2 separate regions of the Homo sapiens genome follow, and region 1 is linked to region 2. The links are contacts of gene promoters, found by promoter capture Hi-C in blood cells and fetal thymus (Javierre and others, 2016). All regions are on one chromosome and are shown on one strand. The core of a region is centred on a gene start or on the middle of the fragment in contact, and the rest is flanking DNA. Distances in the headings are between cores, read along the strand shown.

Region 1 (3,854 bases), core at 108-2,607, 820 kb before region 2:
CACCTCCTAGGTTCAAGCAATTCTCCTGCCTCAGCCTCCCAAGTAGCTGGGATTACAGGTGTACGCCACCATGCTCAGCTTATTTTTGTATTTTTACTACAGACAGGGTTTCACCATGTTGGCCAGGCTGGTCTCAAATTCCTGAACTCAAGTGATCTGCCTGCCTTGGCCTCCCAAAGTGCTGGGATTACAGGCATGAGCCACTGTGCCCAGCCTAAGTCATGCATTTTCTAAAGAAATCAAACATTTAAGACACAGTCCAAGACTTCATTTATCACATGCTACTATGGTGTGAATGTTATCGTCTCCTTCAAAATTTGTGTGTTGGAAACTCAATCAATATTCAATGCAGCAGTGTTGGGAGGTGGGGCTTAATAAAAAGTGTTTAGGTCATGGAGGGCTCCATCCTCATGAATGGATTAATGCTGCTATAAAAAGGGTTTGTGGGCTGGGCACAGTGATGCACACCTGTAGTCTCAGCTACTCGGGACACTGAGGCTGTGGATAGTGTGAGTCCAGGAATTCAGGTTGAGCCTGGGCAACATAGAGAGACCCCATCTCTAAAAAAAGAAAAAGGGCTTGTGGGAATGAGTTCCCTCTCTTTTGCCTTTTTGCCTCCCACCACGTGAGGACACAGTAAGAAACCTGCATCTTGATCTTGGGCTTCTCAGCCTCCAGAACTGTGGGAGACTGTTCTGTTCTTCATAAATTACCCAATCTCAGGCATTCTGTTATAGCATCACAAAATGGATTAAGACACATATAATCCCATTTCCCTCTCCCTCCCAGAGGTAATCAGTCTCTTCAATTTGATATTCATCAATCCTCATATATATTTTTATATCTGTATTACATATACATGCACATGTAAACAATATATAGTATTTTTTACAAATTAAAACTTTACATAAATGATATTATTTATGTAACTTGTTCAACTTGCCTTATTTTGCTTAATAAGGCAAAAAACCCTTAATAAGTCTTTTGGGATTAACCCATATTAATACATGTAATTTTATTTTCAGCTATCATATAGTATTCCGTTGTATAAATATGTGACCATTTAAAAATCCATTTTACTATTGGTGGCCATTTTGATTATTTCCAATTGTTTATGATTATTAATAATGTTTCAATGAACCTTTTTAGGTGAGTCACTGTTCATACATGCTTTCTCTAAAGGATACCTGGGAATGAACTTGTTGGGATGCAGGATATATGCATCTTCAATTTATTGAATATTTTCAAATTGCTCTAAATTACTAAAACTTTATATCCTCATTAATAGTGTTTATAGACTTTTAAACTTTTGCTGGTCTGATATATATGAAATGATATCTTTTTGTTTTAACTGGGATTTTCCTGATTAGTAAGGAGAACTTTTTTTTCTCTATGGCCATTTATTTGTGTTTCTTCTTCTGTTAGTTGCCTGTTCACATCATTTGCTCATTTTTCCTTTGGGTTGATTGTCTTTTTCTTTCCCTATTTGTAGAGGGAAGAAATGCTGCTGCATTTTGGTTACTAATGCTTTGTTGGTTACATGCATTGCAGGTATCTCCTTCTAATCTGCAATTTGGCTTTTAACTTCATGTTGTCTTGTTGAAAACTTCAAACTTTAATATAGTCAGATTCATTGGCGGGGCACAGTGGCTCACACCTGTAATCCCAGCACTTTGGGAGGCCAAGGCAGGCTGATCACTTGAGTTCAGGAATTTGAGACCAGCCTGGCCAACATGGTGAAACCCTGTCTCTACTAAAAATACAAAAATTAGCCGGGCCTGGTGGCACACACCTGTAATCCCAGCTACTTGGAAGGCTGAGGCAGCAGAATCGCTTGAACCCAGGGGACAGAGGTTGCAGTGAGCCAAGATCATGCCATTGCACTTTCTGGGCAATAGAGCGAGACTCCGTCCCAAAAAAAAAAAAAAGATTTATCAATAATTTTCTTTATGGTTTGTGTTATGAATAATAGGTAAAAAGTTTTTTCCTTTCCAAAATTCATAAAAATATTCTGCTATATTTTCCTCTAAAAGTTAAATTTTGCTTTTTGACATTAAGCTCCTGAATACACCTGATATTTTGTGAGGTGAGAATTTTAAAATTGCATAACCAGTTGTCTCAAAATTATATAGTGAATAATAGATCATCCTTTCTCCACTATTTCCCTTTATAATGCCATTGCCATATATCAAGTTTCCATATGTGGGCACATTTATTTCTGGATTCTCTATTCTCTTCTGTCTGTCTCTAAGCCAATAGCACACAGTTTTATTTTTTACAGCTTTAAAATAAGTTTTTATATTTGTCAGGGCAAACTTCCACTTTATTTTTTTTCAAAATTATACTGGCTAATATCTTAGTCTGTTCAGGCTGCTATAACAAAATACCATAAACTGGGTAGCTTAGAAACAACAGAAATTTATTTCTTGTGGGTCTAGAGGCTGGAAAGTTCAAGATCAAGGTGCTGGAACATTCAGTGTCTGGGGACATTCAGTGTCTGGGGAAGTCTCACTTTCTGGTTCATGGAGGGCACCTTCTTTTGTGTCCTCACATGATAAAAGGGGCAAGATAGCTCTCTGGGGCCTCTTTTGTAAAGGCACTAATCTCATTTATGAGGGCTCTGCCCTCATGACTTAATCACCTCCCAGAGGCCCAACCTCCAAATACCTTTACATTGGTGATGAGGTTTCAGCATGTGAATTTTTGGGGGACACAAACATTCAGACCATGACAACTATTTCTGGCTTTTCTATATGAATTTTAATATCAGCTAATCATGTTCTGCCAAAAACCCTGTTGGGGATTTTTAAAATTGAAATTGCACTGAATTTATAGACTGCCAAAAGGAAAAACCAAACCAAACCGGAATCTGATCAAGTTTCTAGACCCAAGTGTTAACTTACAGGACATGTGGAAGACAGAGAAACATGTTAAACTACACTATGAGGACGCAATCAGCAAAGTCTAGATTGAAACTCAACAAGACAAGTGACCCAATTTCCTACAAATACACTAAAAGGGGGAAAAAAAAGAAATGGAAGGGAACTTATAAATTCAATGAGATTTAAAGGTCATATCAACCAATTGTAAACAGTTGGTTTGCAAATTCCAAAACAATTATAATAATTATGGGACAATTTGAACTTTGAAAACTGACTGAATATTCAATTATATTAAAGAATTATTTAAATTTTGGGTGTAATAATGGTATCATGATTATGTTAAAAGTCATTTCTCGGTGCAGCGCACCAGCATGGCACATGTATACATATGTAACTAACCTGCACATTGTGCACATGTACCCTAAAACTTAAAGTATAATAATAATAAAAAAAGTCATTTCTCATCTTTGAGAGATATGTTCTCAAGTATATATGAATAAAATGATATGAGCCTAAAATTTGTTTCAAAATAACATGGGAGAGAGAAAGGAGTTGGAGATACAGGTGAACAACACTGGCCAAGAGATGGGTATATGGGATTCACTGTGCTGCTCTGTTCACTTCTGTGTATGTTTGCAGTTTTCCATAATAACAATTCCTTTTAAATTCTATTTTTAAATTGTGCTTTATGTTTTCAAACACTATTTTTTACACAATTGATTTCTGTGTATTGATCTGTATTTAGTAATCTTGCTGAATTCTTTTGTCTTTTAATGTCTTGTCTGTAGAGTCCCTTGAATTTTCCATATAAGTAATAATATAGTCTGGAAATAATACCAGTGTCATTTTCCTCCTTCCTATCCTTTCATCTTTCCTTTTTTTGGTTTCTTTACCGTTCTGGCTAGCATTGCTAGTACAATGTTGAATAGAATCACTGATAGAGGACATCCTTGTCCTAGTCCTGTCTCTAAA
Region 2 (3,610 bases), core at 168-2,667:
TAGCAAGGCCTCATGTATACTAAAAGTCAAAAAAATTAGCTGGGCGGCCGGGCGCAGTGGCTCACGCCTGTAATCCCAGCACTTTGGGAGGCCGAGGCGGGCGGATCACGAGGTCAGGAGATCGAGACCATCCCGGCTAAAACGGTGAAACCCCGTCTCTACTAAAAATACAAAAAAATTAGCCGGGCGTAGTGGCGGGCGCCTGTAGTCCCAGCTACTTGGGAGGCTGAGGCAGGAGAATGGCGTGAACCCGGGAGGCGGAGCTTGCAGTGAGCCGAGATCCCGCCACTGCACTCCAGCCTGGGTGACAGAGCGAGACTCCGTCTCAAAAAAAAAAAAAAAAAAAAAAATTAGCTGGGCATGGTGCTGTGCACCTGTGTAGTCCCATCTACTTGGGAGTCTGAGGCAGAAGGATCGCTTGAGTCCAGGAGGTCAAGGCTGCAGTGAGCTATGCATGCAGCCTGCACTGCCACTGCCACTGCACCGCAGCCTGGGTAACAGAGTGAGCTACTGTCTCAAAGGAAAAAAAAATTAATTATGCTTTTATTGAGCTTTTTTATTGTCTGTTTTCTCATTGGTCTCTAAGTTGTATTGAGTATAAGAACTGAGGTATATCCCCACACCTAGCAATAGTGCCTGGCACACAGTAGACAACAAATGTGAAGTTGAGTGAATAGATGAATTTATAACAATATTTTGTAAGCTAGGGGTTGTGACCCACCAGGATCATGAAATCAATCTAGTGGATTATAATCAGCTTTAATTTAAAGAAGAAAAAGAAATAGAAGAGAATAGCAAATAATAAGAGTATTATTTCATGAAATTTTTTTATTACAAAATTTGTAAAATGTATTTCTTATAATGAGTGGCAGTAAAACTAAAATGAAAGCCACTGGGTTGTAATAAGCAAGTACTTTTTTCTATAGTAAGAAAAAGCAGCTTTATTTAAAAAAAAAAATCGGAAAACCTTGTGACTGCAAAAGATTCCTGCCTTGGGGGATTTTTACTTTCACAGATTTCAAAGCCTTAAACTCGAGGGAAAAAAGTGTCTAGAGTTTTAGGTTTCTGTGAGTAGATCACAGAGGAATTAAAAATCCATCACAGATCCTGCCTGGTAACTATTGCCATAGACCAATGAAGCCTAAAAGTGCTGTTGAATTCTATTTCCTCTGAAGATATATCTTAAACTTTTTTGTCCCATGACTGATGACGAAAGTGGAAATCCAGTGTTAAAAGTATGAATTCTTTGCTGTTGAGGGTGGTCACTGATTTGTGTCTTGGAGAATTTAATTGGCTGTTTCTCCCAACCTTCTCTCTTGAAGAAAAGAGCCCTGAGCCAATGAGGAGCTACTGTTCTGTGTCCATAGCAACAAAATAAACAAACTTTGGCCTGCCATCTCCCAAGGGCAAACCTCACAACTCAGGCCCAAGTCACAGGAATCTGAATGGTGGGGTGACCTTCTCCTCTAGTTTAATTTCATTGCAATACTGAGAAACTTCAACTGTTTTGTCTTTAGAAGGGAAATTCATGTTTGTGCCAGGCCAGCCTTTGTAAAAGCCTTTGATTGGATTCACTAGAAGTCTGTCTTCCCGCAGTACATATACTGTGAATTTTCTCCTTCGGCATTTCAACCACTTGGAATGGCCACTAAAGTGGCTTTTGATCTAAAGTAAACTCTGATTCTGTGTTGATGGGGAACCATTTCTCTCTAACATGGTGGTTTCTTTAAGATGTTTGACTTGGGCCACATGAGAATAACAGATCTTTGGGCAGTCCAAGGTAAGCTCTTTGGAAAAGATGTTTTATATTATTTTTTCTACTGATTATTAATACTAACCAGTAACTTCTCTGAAGCCTCTGCCGGCTCACTGGTGACTATTGTTAGGGCAAGCCTCAGGTAAAATCATCAGGTAGAAGTGCAGGAAAGGGAAAAAAGGGGGAGAAAAAATCCTTACACACACTCACACACCCCTCTATAATTAGAGCTATATGATGTCAAGCCACTGTAAATGCAGATCTATCTGTGATGACATGGAAATATCAACTAGATATCCTGTTACACAAAAAGAACAAGATGCAACATTGTGTGCAAAGTATGCTCTCACTTATGCAAATAATTTAAAAAATCTATTATGCTTCTCTACAGGTTAAGTTCTATATGCAAAACATTTAAGGTTATATGCACTCACAACATTTCTGGAAGGATGCCCCAAAAATCTGTTAGAAGTAGTTCCCACTTAAGAAGCTATGAGAAGTCAAGGGCTGATTTTAGCTACTGAAATATTAAAATACTGCCATATAGGCAGGGCACGGTAGCTCACACCTGTAATCCCAGCACTTTGGGAGGCTGAGATGGGTGGATCACCTGAAGTCAGGAGTTTGAGACCAGCCTGGCCAATATGGTGAAACCCCATCGTTATAAAAATACAAAAATTAGCCAGGCATGGTGGCGGGTGCCTGTAATTCCAGCTACTGGGGAAGCTGAGGCAGGAGAATCGCTTGAACCTCGGAGGTAGAGGTTGCAGTGAGCCAAGACCACACCATTGCACTCCAGCCTAGGCAACAAGAGCAAAACTCCGTCTCAAAACAATAATAATAATAAATAAAATACTGTCATATTGATTGGTAGATGACCATTGTCCAAGCCCCTTGCATGTCCTCCTTGCCACCTTGGTTGTCCCAACTCCTCCCCTGGCACCCCCAGACCACCTCATGATTCAGCAACTAAGGGGTTAATGCCTGGCATGGAGGTGGGAGTGAGATCTCCCAGGACCCTGTTCCAACCCTGGTTGATTATTCAATAGCCTTGTCTTACTGGTTGTTAAATATTTTGAGTATCACTCCCATGGGTGTTCAAAGAAAAAGGCCTTTATTTTTATTTTATTTATTTATTTATTTTTTAGAGACAGGGTCTTGTGCTGTCACCCAGGCTGAAATGCAGTGGTGTGGTCCTAGCTCACTGCAACTTCAAACTCCTGGCCTCAAGTGATCCTCCCGCACCACCTGCCAAGTGGCTGGGACTACAGGCACACTCCACCATACTAGGCTATTTTTAAAATTTTTTGTAGATACAGAGTCTCGATATGTTTCCCAGGCTGGTCTCAAACTCCTAGCCTCAAGCGACTCTCCCACCTCAGTCTCTCAAAGTGTTGGGATTACAGACATGTGCCACCACACCTGTGAGGCCTTCTTTTTTTTTTTTCTTAAGAGCAAAAGAATATATACCAAGACATTGTTTATCATGGGAAAGAGGAAAAGGAAACAACTACACATTCATCAAAGATCATTGAAAATCTATGTAAAACTCCACTGAGTGATTGTATCACCCATACAATTTACCTCTGCTTTCTGGCTTTTGAATGCAAATGTTTAATGTTATTTATAATATGGTAATGACGATTACAACATTTTGGCAGTTTCATCTGTGAATCTCTTTTCTCTTTGTTTTTGTTTTTTGTTTTATTCATTTATTTATTGAGACAGAGTCTTGTTCTGTCATCCAGGCTGGAGTGCAGTGGTGAGATCTCGGCTCACTGCAACCTCCACCTCCCAGGTTCAAGTGATTCTCCTGCCTTAGCCTCCCGAGTAGCTGGGATTACAGGCATGTGC

The links. Contacts are between HindIII fragments. The CHiCAGO score rates a contact against its expected background, and 5 or more counts as called.
Region 1: a fragment that was not itself captured here is called in contact with the fragment with the promoter of FLACC1 in region 2 in 1 of 17 cell types (naive CD8 T cells); the score reaches 5.1 in naive CD8 T cells.

What each region holds. Positions count from the first base shown.
Region 1 is chr2:202,174,278-202,178,131 of GRCh38, reverse strand. All of the region lies in intron 15 of KIAA2012, which reads right to left. Among named protein-coding and RNA genes, the nearest start is that of KIAA2012-AS1, 59 kb to the right of the region's middle. The HindIII fragment of the contact is 6,218 bases long and covers 1-3,854 here.
Region 2 is chr2:201,355,152-201,358,761 of GRCh38, reverse strand. It overlaps FLACC1 (flagellum associated containing coiled-coil domains 1), which reads left to right and starts at 1,417. Exons shown (of 15, transcript NM_001127391.3): 1 at 1,417-1,780. The HindIII fragment of the contact is 10,294 bases long and covers 1-3,610 here.